3 separate regions of the Homo sapiens genome follow, and all the other regions are linked to region 1. Evidence: promoter capture Hi-C in 16 types of primary human blood cells and fetal thymus (Javierre and others, 2016). All regions are on one chromosome and are shown on one strand. The core of a region is centred on a gene start or on the middle of the fragment in contact, and the rest is flanking DNA. Distances in the headings are between cores, read along the strand shown. Region 1 holds the start of STK38L (serine/threonine kinase 38 like). Region 2 overlaps BHLHE41 (basic helix-loop-helix family member e41). Region 3 has its middle 3.3 kb from the start of KRAS.

Region 1 (2,700 bases), core at 61-2,560:
ATTTGAAGACATAAATTTGCTGTGGAACAAACCATACACTGTTCTCAATCTTATCGTAGCATTTGAATGGTATGTGTATGCGTGCAGTACAGGGAGAAGGGTGTATAGGCCTGTCAAGCTTGTCTGATCACAATTAAACCTCCTATGCTTGTATATGACAACTGTCATTTGAGTTTCAAAATGACCATATAAGTGGAGCTGATCTCCCCAAAAATACACTAATTACCAAACTAGAGCTTTTCCCACTACTAAGCTATGTATGAAAAAGCACAGTGTAAGAAAGAGAAATGAGGTAATGCTTCTTTCCTAGGTGTTTTGCTCGTGTCACCTGCTCTTGGGAAACCTAAAGATGACAGGTGGCATTTCTAAGTGATAGTTTTTGCAAGCACAGTACCAGCTTCATACGTTGTCTCAGTAAGCTAAAAGCTAAGAATATTTTATAAGACCTCCAATACTCATATTGAGGATAAACTTGCCAACAATAATTGGGAGTCATTCTCTCATTTGGCTTTCCCAAAGGCCAGTTTTGTCCCCAGACGCAAATTGCATCAACCTTCCCAAAGTTGTCCCTTTTGGGTCATCCTATAGGGGAGTGCTCTTCTGCACAATTCTCAGATCCTACTGATAAAGCAGGCCAGTACTGTAGTTATTTTAGATTTTCCAAGAAAACTCAAACAGGTTTTTAATGTATTTTTTGTGGCATTTACAAATCCTGGTTCCTCTCCAGTCTCTGGAGTCCCCTCATGGTGAAATGGAAGCGTCAAGGAACCTGGGTGGCTTCGAGTCCCCACAGCTACCGACTGAGCAACTTAGCTGATCCATCTTTGTTGACAACTGTTTCCCAATCTGAAAAATGCGTGAATTCTCTCTTTCCATTTCTAACATTCTTTGCATTGCACTGTTTGAAAAATTCGGATGACATTTAGAATGTGACTAATGTCGCAACACATTAGGCCACTCTCAAGAGAGGCCTGAACAGGTTTGGCGTAAAAACGGCAGTGAGGTGAGGCTGGTGAGAGGGGAAGTGGCGACAGTTCAGTCAACTCCCTCAAAACCAGTCTGGCCTTCACCAGGCGGAGATGGGTGGGGCCGGGAAGACGGGCGTTGACGACAGAAGGCTACTTCCGGCTGTGGTGCGTATGACGTCAGGGCGAGTCGGACCGACCCAGCCACCGAGAAGCCGAGGAGGCAAGGCTCGCGAGAGTTCAGGGAGGCCGCCCTGAGATTCCGGCGAGGCCGCGGGTCCCACCTCCCGGGGGCGGGGCGAGGGCGGAGCGGGGAGAAGGGAGCTGACGGGCGCCCGGCCGGCTGCGGTCCGTGCGGAGGCTGAGCCGGCCGCGGGCGCGACCGGAGGCAGGTGAGTTCGCGGATGTAGCGCTCGGCTGAGGGCCCGAGCTCGCCGCGCCAGCCCCAACTCTGCGAGCAGGAGCAGGAGGAGATTTTAGGTGTCTTTGGGTGTCCAGGGAAAGCCGGGCTAATTCTGGGGCTGGAAATGTCTCCGGGGAACCTGCGGCGACGGCCTTGGCCCTCTTATTCCCCGGGGTGATACTGGCCCCATGTGTCCAGAGAGGGAGCCTCGCACCCGGGGAGGAATCTTTGTCCTCTGCTCCTTTCTCCTTCCACTCCCCGGCCCCCGAGCACTCCGCTCCGGGTCCCCGCCTGGGCTTCACAAACAATAACAAATGTCGCGGATCCTCTCCGGGTAGCCCCAGCGCTCCCGTCCCGTGCCCTCCAGCCGATGTCACCCAGAGCCAGGATCCGAAGCATGGCTCTTCAATTGTGGGGGCTGTTTGTGTACCGTTCCTAAAAACTGATGCGTCAGATTGCCAAACATTTCTCAAGACAGACTCAGGAAAGCCTCCCAGCTCCTAGAAGCCACGGAGTGCTCAAAACCAGTCTTAGAATCTGTCTTTACCATTGCACCCGTAGCCCCTTCCTTTCAAAATCATTTCTCCCACTCCTTTTTTCACCTTTAGTATCGAGGTCGAACGAGTGGTTATTTGGTGTGGGAGTAGAAAAGAGTATAACCGATTGAGTAGGGCACGTTTCACCTTTAAAAAGTTGCCAGGTTGACAGCAAAAGAACAAACTTTATTTTCAAAACCAGTGGCCTCCCCTTTTACTGGTGCTGCTTTTGTTTTGTGGAATAGCTTTTCGGGTTCTAAGTTTGGAGGAATGATATAAAAAGAAGTGGGAGGTGGGGGGAGGGCTAGTGGCTCTGGAAGTAGTGGCTTGTCCAAAAGTAGGATGCTATTGTTTCTCACTTGATAAAATGCAGAACCAACACTTTTACCCATTTCACATAACTTGTGATAAGTTTTGAGAGAAGCCACTTAATCGGAAATGGCCTATTAGCTTATTTTACTGCTCAAATCTGAAAAAACAGCTTTAAGTGATTTAAGTTCTGCCTCTTGATTGTAAGATGGGGATTGATGAGTGAGACCTTGTCTTTTTTGGCGCTGGGGCTTACGTTTGACCGGTCTCTCTACTTTAAGGCAGGGCCTATTGTACTTAAGCCCATTTTTGCTTCCTCAGTACAGATTCTTGAAAGTTCTTTGTCTCAATCATATATGTATATAAGGTACTGTAAACCTCTTTGAATTTGATTGGCCTTTCTCTCTGTGCCTCAGGATATGTAAAACAATTAAGTTTATTATACTCTCTCCCCAGTGGCTGAGAGGTATTGTATGTGAATTAGCCA
Region 2 (2,791 bases), core at 277-2,776, 1.1 Mb before region 1:
GTGTGTTTGCCCAGCCATGTCTCTCCAGAGGCTCCACTGGCAATCACTTTCCATGGAAAGGTTAAGAATTGACCTGTGACATAGAAAGGAGTAGGCTGAGCCTCCTTTTACATAACTTTTGAACAAATCTCGGGTGGTGGGCAATAACCAAAGTCATCGCCTGGATGGCCAGAAACAGGGAACTAAATGAAAAATAGTTTCACAATGATAGGAACTAAAACTCCAAATTTTACATAGCTATTAAAGTGTTGTTTCTAGTGCCTTGAAAACGTGCTTAAGGTTAGCTCTTTGGAGGGGAGGGAAGGGCCATTTTTTTTCAATTCAATATAAAGTTTGCTAAGAAATGTGTTATATAAAATTAATCTTTTTAAAGATTATGTAAAATATATGTATGTAAAATTAAATTTTTATGAGTATAATACTATACTCATAAAAACATTGACTCAAGATTCATATTTGCCTGAAGTTGGAAAATCATTTTAGCTGAAATTTCACCACTACAAGTATAGAAGCCTCTTTAGTGAATTATGACTTCAGCCTTTTAATTCATTAAAATAAATCAATGACTAAAATAAAGTTTTTTCAGATTTTCAGATACAATATAGACAATATTATTTTTGCATTTCTGTTCTAACTTTATCTTACCATGTTACCATATGGGCACTTGGACTAAATAACTGACTTGTAAAATCTGGCCCAACTCTGAAGATTTTTTTATCTCATTATACCAAAATTATACACATGCTAAAAACACTGTATTATCCTCTGATTCACTTTTAATCCTTTTTGGTTATGAAACTAATATTACTACAGTAGTGGCATCAAAATATAGCTCAAAATATTTGAAATGCTGTTTTTCCCATTATTCTGATTCAGATAATTTTTCTAAAGTTCAATAAATTAACAATGCTGAAAAATCCTACATAGTTTTCTAGTGTTGATTTCAATTTCCTTTGTTCTATGGTTTGTTACGAAGCTTCATGGGGGCTGCTCAATCAAGTTCAGCTTACTTGGTCCAAGATACTGCAATGGGAAGTAGTTGAGTGACTGAGGGATATAATAGAGCTGGCCACTAGTGCTAGTGCTGACTCTAGGTAGCTCTGTGACCTTGGGAAGATACTTAATATCTCTGGGCTTCCTTTCTTTTTTTCCTATCACGAAATGCAGGGGACTGGATGAGCTGTGGCTCCTTCTGGCTTCATACTGTTATGACTTGCAGTTCAGTTGCCATAAAGTCAGCAGAGGGAGCACTTTTTCTACATCTTATACAATCTGACTCTCATTTAAACATTTTCAAAAATCAAGGGGTTTGTGAAGAACATTCCTGAAACTAAAAGCTGACAATCCTTCACTGTTTGTATCATATCACAGATTTGAATGGAAATTTGAGAAAAGTCTAGAAATTATTTCTGATCCTGGAATTCCATGATAAAGTCCCATGACAGAATTATTTTATAAAAAGAAGCCAAAACACTCTCATATTAAGCACCCCTTTGTGATCATCTATTTATACAAGACCCAGTGAAAGAGGAACACCTGACCATACTAGAGAGGCTATGTGATGTCACAGACGAAAACTGAAAAACTTGTCAATCATTAAAACAATAGAAAATTGGGTCTAACATAAACAAACCACACAAGTTAATTGGTAGGTTTTTCTTTTGCACTTTTCATTAAGATACATTGGGAACGAGCAGGTAGACAAAGCCAGAGCCTGGAGGCTTGCAAGAGATTGGAAATGTGTGACATCAAGCCAATGACAAAAAAAAGCTGTAAATCTGAGAACTGTAGTGATTTGTATCCCTATAGTTATAGATATCTTAAAACTAATTGAGCATCCATTATGTCTTTTTTAATTATTAGACAATATCATATCGTATATTAAAGTTTTTATTCCTTAGTAAGAATTTTTAAATCACAAAATAGTGTGGCAATATTTAGGTAATAGAATTTATGGAGTGCTGAAAATACTAGAATATAAAGGTAATTTCTAGTTTATCGTCACATACTAAACTTTTCTAAACCAGCTGGTTTCTCACAGACAGTATTTATTTTTTTAAAATAATTTAAGACAGCATAAGCTTGTACCAAGCATAAGCATTGTAACAAAAGTGCAACTTTTCAGCAAATCCTCCCCAAAAGATATTTTAACTCAAAATATCATTAGCACATATTTTCTCCCTACAAAAATAGCATGTCAGACATCATTAATTGGATGTATTAACAACTATGTACATAAGAGCCACCTTGTAGGCTAAGAGTTTAACGTTGTTTAAACACAGCGTTTGAGGCAAACAGTAGCAACAGCAGCAGCAAATGCACCAAACTGACGAAAAGACCCAGATATTTTCCTCACTCATAGTCAGACTGTTGTGTCTCACCCCTTACATAACATCCAAGTGAGATTTCTCACAGTGCTACCTTGGCAACAAACTAAAAATATCTAGACAAGGTCTTGGTTTAAGCCTTATTAAAAAAGCTTTCTTTGTGATTATCTGGTATCTGGTTTGGTCTCCAGAAAATACATAGACTTGGAGATAGGAAGGCCTCACAGGACTTCATTCTATATCTTTACAGCATTTGCAATCAAAACTGGCCAGTTAAATGCTTTCGTTCACTTTTGAATTTTAACAGAATATAGGATATATCAGTTTGGACTTGTTTTTTGTTGTTGTTGTTTTTTGTTTTGTTTTGAAGTTCAGTGCACTTTTTTTTACAGTAAGATTACAAAAATTTAGGAACATGATGGATTAATGAGAGTGGGAATAGATGCACTTGAGATGTGTATGTA
Region 3 (2,711 bases), core at 106-2,605, 2.0 Mb before region 1:
CATGAGGGCATGGGTTTTGGTCTGTTTCATTTACTGCTAAATTTCCAGCACCTAAGACAGTCTCTGACACAAAAAGGCATTCAATAAATATTTATGGAATGTTGAATGAGTGAATCTGTGGACCCTCTGTGGATTCTAAATCCTAATCCATGAACTCTGTGACTCTAAATCTTTACTTTAGACAGAGTGTCTTAAACCTCCTGTCAATCTCTGTCTTCATCTTAACAAAATCTGCTTTGAAACTTAGGTCACCTTCTGATAAGCCACATTCCGTGCAGCTCAGAGATACTTATCTCGTACATAATAGACACAAGGAATTCTTAAATGAATGAATTTGCGCTTATGTGTATGCTACTTTGTGGTCACTCAAGCATAAATCACAGATTTATTTTGTACAACATCAAGTGCATGATAAGTTCTTGTTTCCTCTTACAGCTGTGAATATGATGTTCTTCCTATAGTTGATGTTCCATACATCTTAAAAGGACTATAATATAGAAGAGGGGAAAGCTTTATATAGCACTTTTATGCTGATTATAAAAATTCTGGCATTAGCAGAAACCTAATCCATCCACATGGTCTCAGTTATCATCTAGGCTCATGATTCGTAAAGCAAATCTGCATCCAACCATTTGTTCCACGCACCCCACACTCCAGTTTTACCTCAGACACTTTCTCTTTCCTTTTCACTTCCACAGCAATTTATACATATGGTATGTCAGGTCTTTCTGCCGTTCAGTCCTGGGTACTTTCTTAGAAGCCGGCACCACCTCCTTGCAACATTACCTTTCTTTCCTTAACATAGAGGTCTCAAGGGTAAATGCTTTAGGAATCACCTGCCATGCCTACCAAAAATGCAAGTTCCTAGGCCCCTCACCCAGATATTTTATTCAGTTGGTCTAAGGTAGACCAGTAATCTTCATTTTTAGCAAATCAAATGATCCTAAACTGGTAGTTCACTGTGTGCACATTGAGAAACTCTGATGTAGATATTCAAATTCTTGGCACCTGCACTTTCTACTGTCTTCAGGGGTTCCTCTTTCTCGAGCCTGGTGGCTCCCTTGAACAGTCTCCCTGGCTCTCCCTTCCCTTGCTCTCTCCAAGGACAAGCACACTGAAGTAGCCTGTGATCACAATGGGAAAGGGGGGAGGAAATAAAAAGTATAAGCATGGGGATTCCAGGCCTGCTCTCAGCTACAACTGAAGTTTCTACCCTCTACTGTCAGACTGTCCTGGGAAGGCAGCCACGTACAAAGGTGTGCACGTACATACCCTTTTTATCTGCTGTACAGATAAAAGACCATACTGACCCTTTCTTTCACAAGAAACCCTCTTCTGCAGATAGAATTAAAGCCAGAACAACAGGAGTACCCTTATGTTACCTGGGCTCTTAGAAAAAAGGTATAAAATGCTAGGACACCCTCAGAGCACTGCAAATGCTGAGGATTTACTTTAAGGCAATAAGGACACTTTAAAAAACCCTATCATCAGGCGGAGAGCTGCTGTTCAGTCCAGCAATCAACTGCACTTGTGAGCCAGCAACAGGCTGTGGGGCCCTGCTCATCCCTTCATTAACAAGTATCCATTGCCTATGACTCTAGTAATTTTGCCATTCTCATAAATCACCATCTGTCCACTGCTTTTTCATGTAGTCTTAGCTTCTACTGCTATCTGTGCTTCTAGTGGTCACTCTCTGTGACTAACATTCAAAGCATTCCAAGAGAGAAGATCTGGCCATGTCTGTCATTCACTGTTCAATAGGAAGGGCCTTTATGGGACACAATTTTCCTGATTGGTGGCTGGCCTTCTTTATGTCTGGCTAAAAGATTATTGTGTTTGTTTGTGTGTCAACCCTGGGTCCAGACGGTTGTGGCCAGAGTAGCAGGACGCAGAGCAGGGGAACTTGAGCAGGAGGAGCCATCTACGATGCTTTCATGGACTCTACTTCAGCACAACCTTTTGACTCTGGCAGGAATTTGAACACATGAATGGGTGCTGCTTAATTCACTTACTCTGCACTTTATCCTTACTGGACACTTATTTCATTATACTTTGTATACCTTTTTTGCAAATATGTTTTCCCATAACTGCTTTACTAGGTTGTAAATTATTCCAGGCCCATTTCTTTTAATTCTATGTTTTCATAGTTCTTAGCACATTTGGGTCCTCTGTAAATATTCCTGAAGTGAATGAAATTATAACAAGCTTCAGTCCTCTCTCTTCACAGGCACTTCATTCTCATCAAACCAATTTCCTGGACCATTTCTAAATGAATATTCTGTTATCATGGCAAATGCCTGTCCAAAGCCAAATTCCCCATGTTATTCCCTCTAACGAATTCCCTCTCTCAATTCCTCCATCTTACCTGAGTGACATCATGGTCCTCCAGAACATTTAGACATGAAAACTTAATTTTTAACCCAGTCCTTATTAAAATTAGTCACAGCTCCTTTTAATTATACTTCCTGAGTATTTTCCCATATCTGCCTCTTCTGTATTCCTTCCTTCTCAGCTACATTTCTGGAATAACTTCTTCATTGACTTTCCTACCTCCTGGCTTTCTTTGTCTCAATTCAGTTTTATGATGTTGCCAAATTAACCTTTCTTCCGCATGTCTTTTATCATCATCAAACATTTACTCTGTGCCTGCTCCATATAGGCTACATGCATACTGGGTATATATTTGAACAGTGGAAAGAGTTACAAGCTAA

What was found. Contacts are between HindIII fragments. The CHiCAGO score rates a contact against its expected background, and 5 or more counts as called.
Region 2: a fragment that was not itself captured here is called in contact with the fragment with the promoter of STK38L in region 1 in 2 of 17 cell types (activated CD4 T cells and fetal thymus); the score reaches 7.7 in activated CD4 T cells.
Region 3: a fragment that was not itself captured here is called in contact with the fragment with the promoter of STK38L in region 1 in 1 of 17 cell types (naive CD8 T cells); the score reaches 5.4 in naive CD8 T cells.

The regions. Positions count from the first base shown.
Region 1 is chr12:27,242,976-27,245,675 of GRCh38, forward strand. It overlaps STK38L (serine/threonine kinase 38 like), which reads left to right and starts at 1,311. Exons shown (of 14, transcript NM_015000.4): 1 at 1,311-1,357. RefSeq lists enhancers at 22-81, 2,670-2,700 and a silencer at 1,140-1,379. The HindIII fragment of the contact is 3,512 bases long and covers 117-2,700 here.
Region 2 is chr12:26,118,385-26,121,175 of GRCh38, forward strand. It overlaps BHLHE41 (basic helix-loop-helix family member e41), which reads right to left. Exons shown (of 5, transcript NM_030762.3): 5 at 1,646-2,791. Among named protein-coding and RNA genes, the nearest start is that of BHLHE41, 5.3 kb to the right of the region's middle. The HindIII fragment of the contact is 1,105 bases long and covers 975-2,079 here.
Region 3 is chr12:25,252,866-25,255,576 of GRCh38, forward strand. No RefSeq gene overlaps it. Among named protein-coding and RNA genes, the nearest start is that of KRAS, 3.3 kb to the left of the region's middle. The HindIII fragment of the contact is 1,695 bases long and covers 509-2,203 here.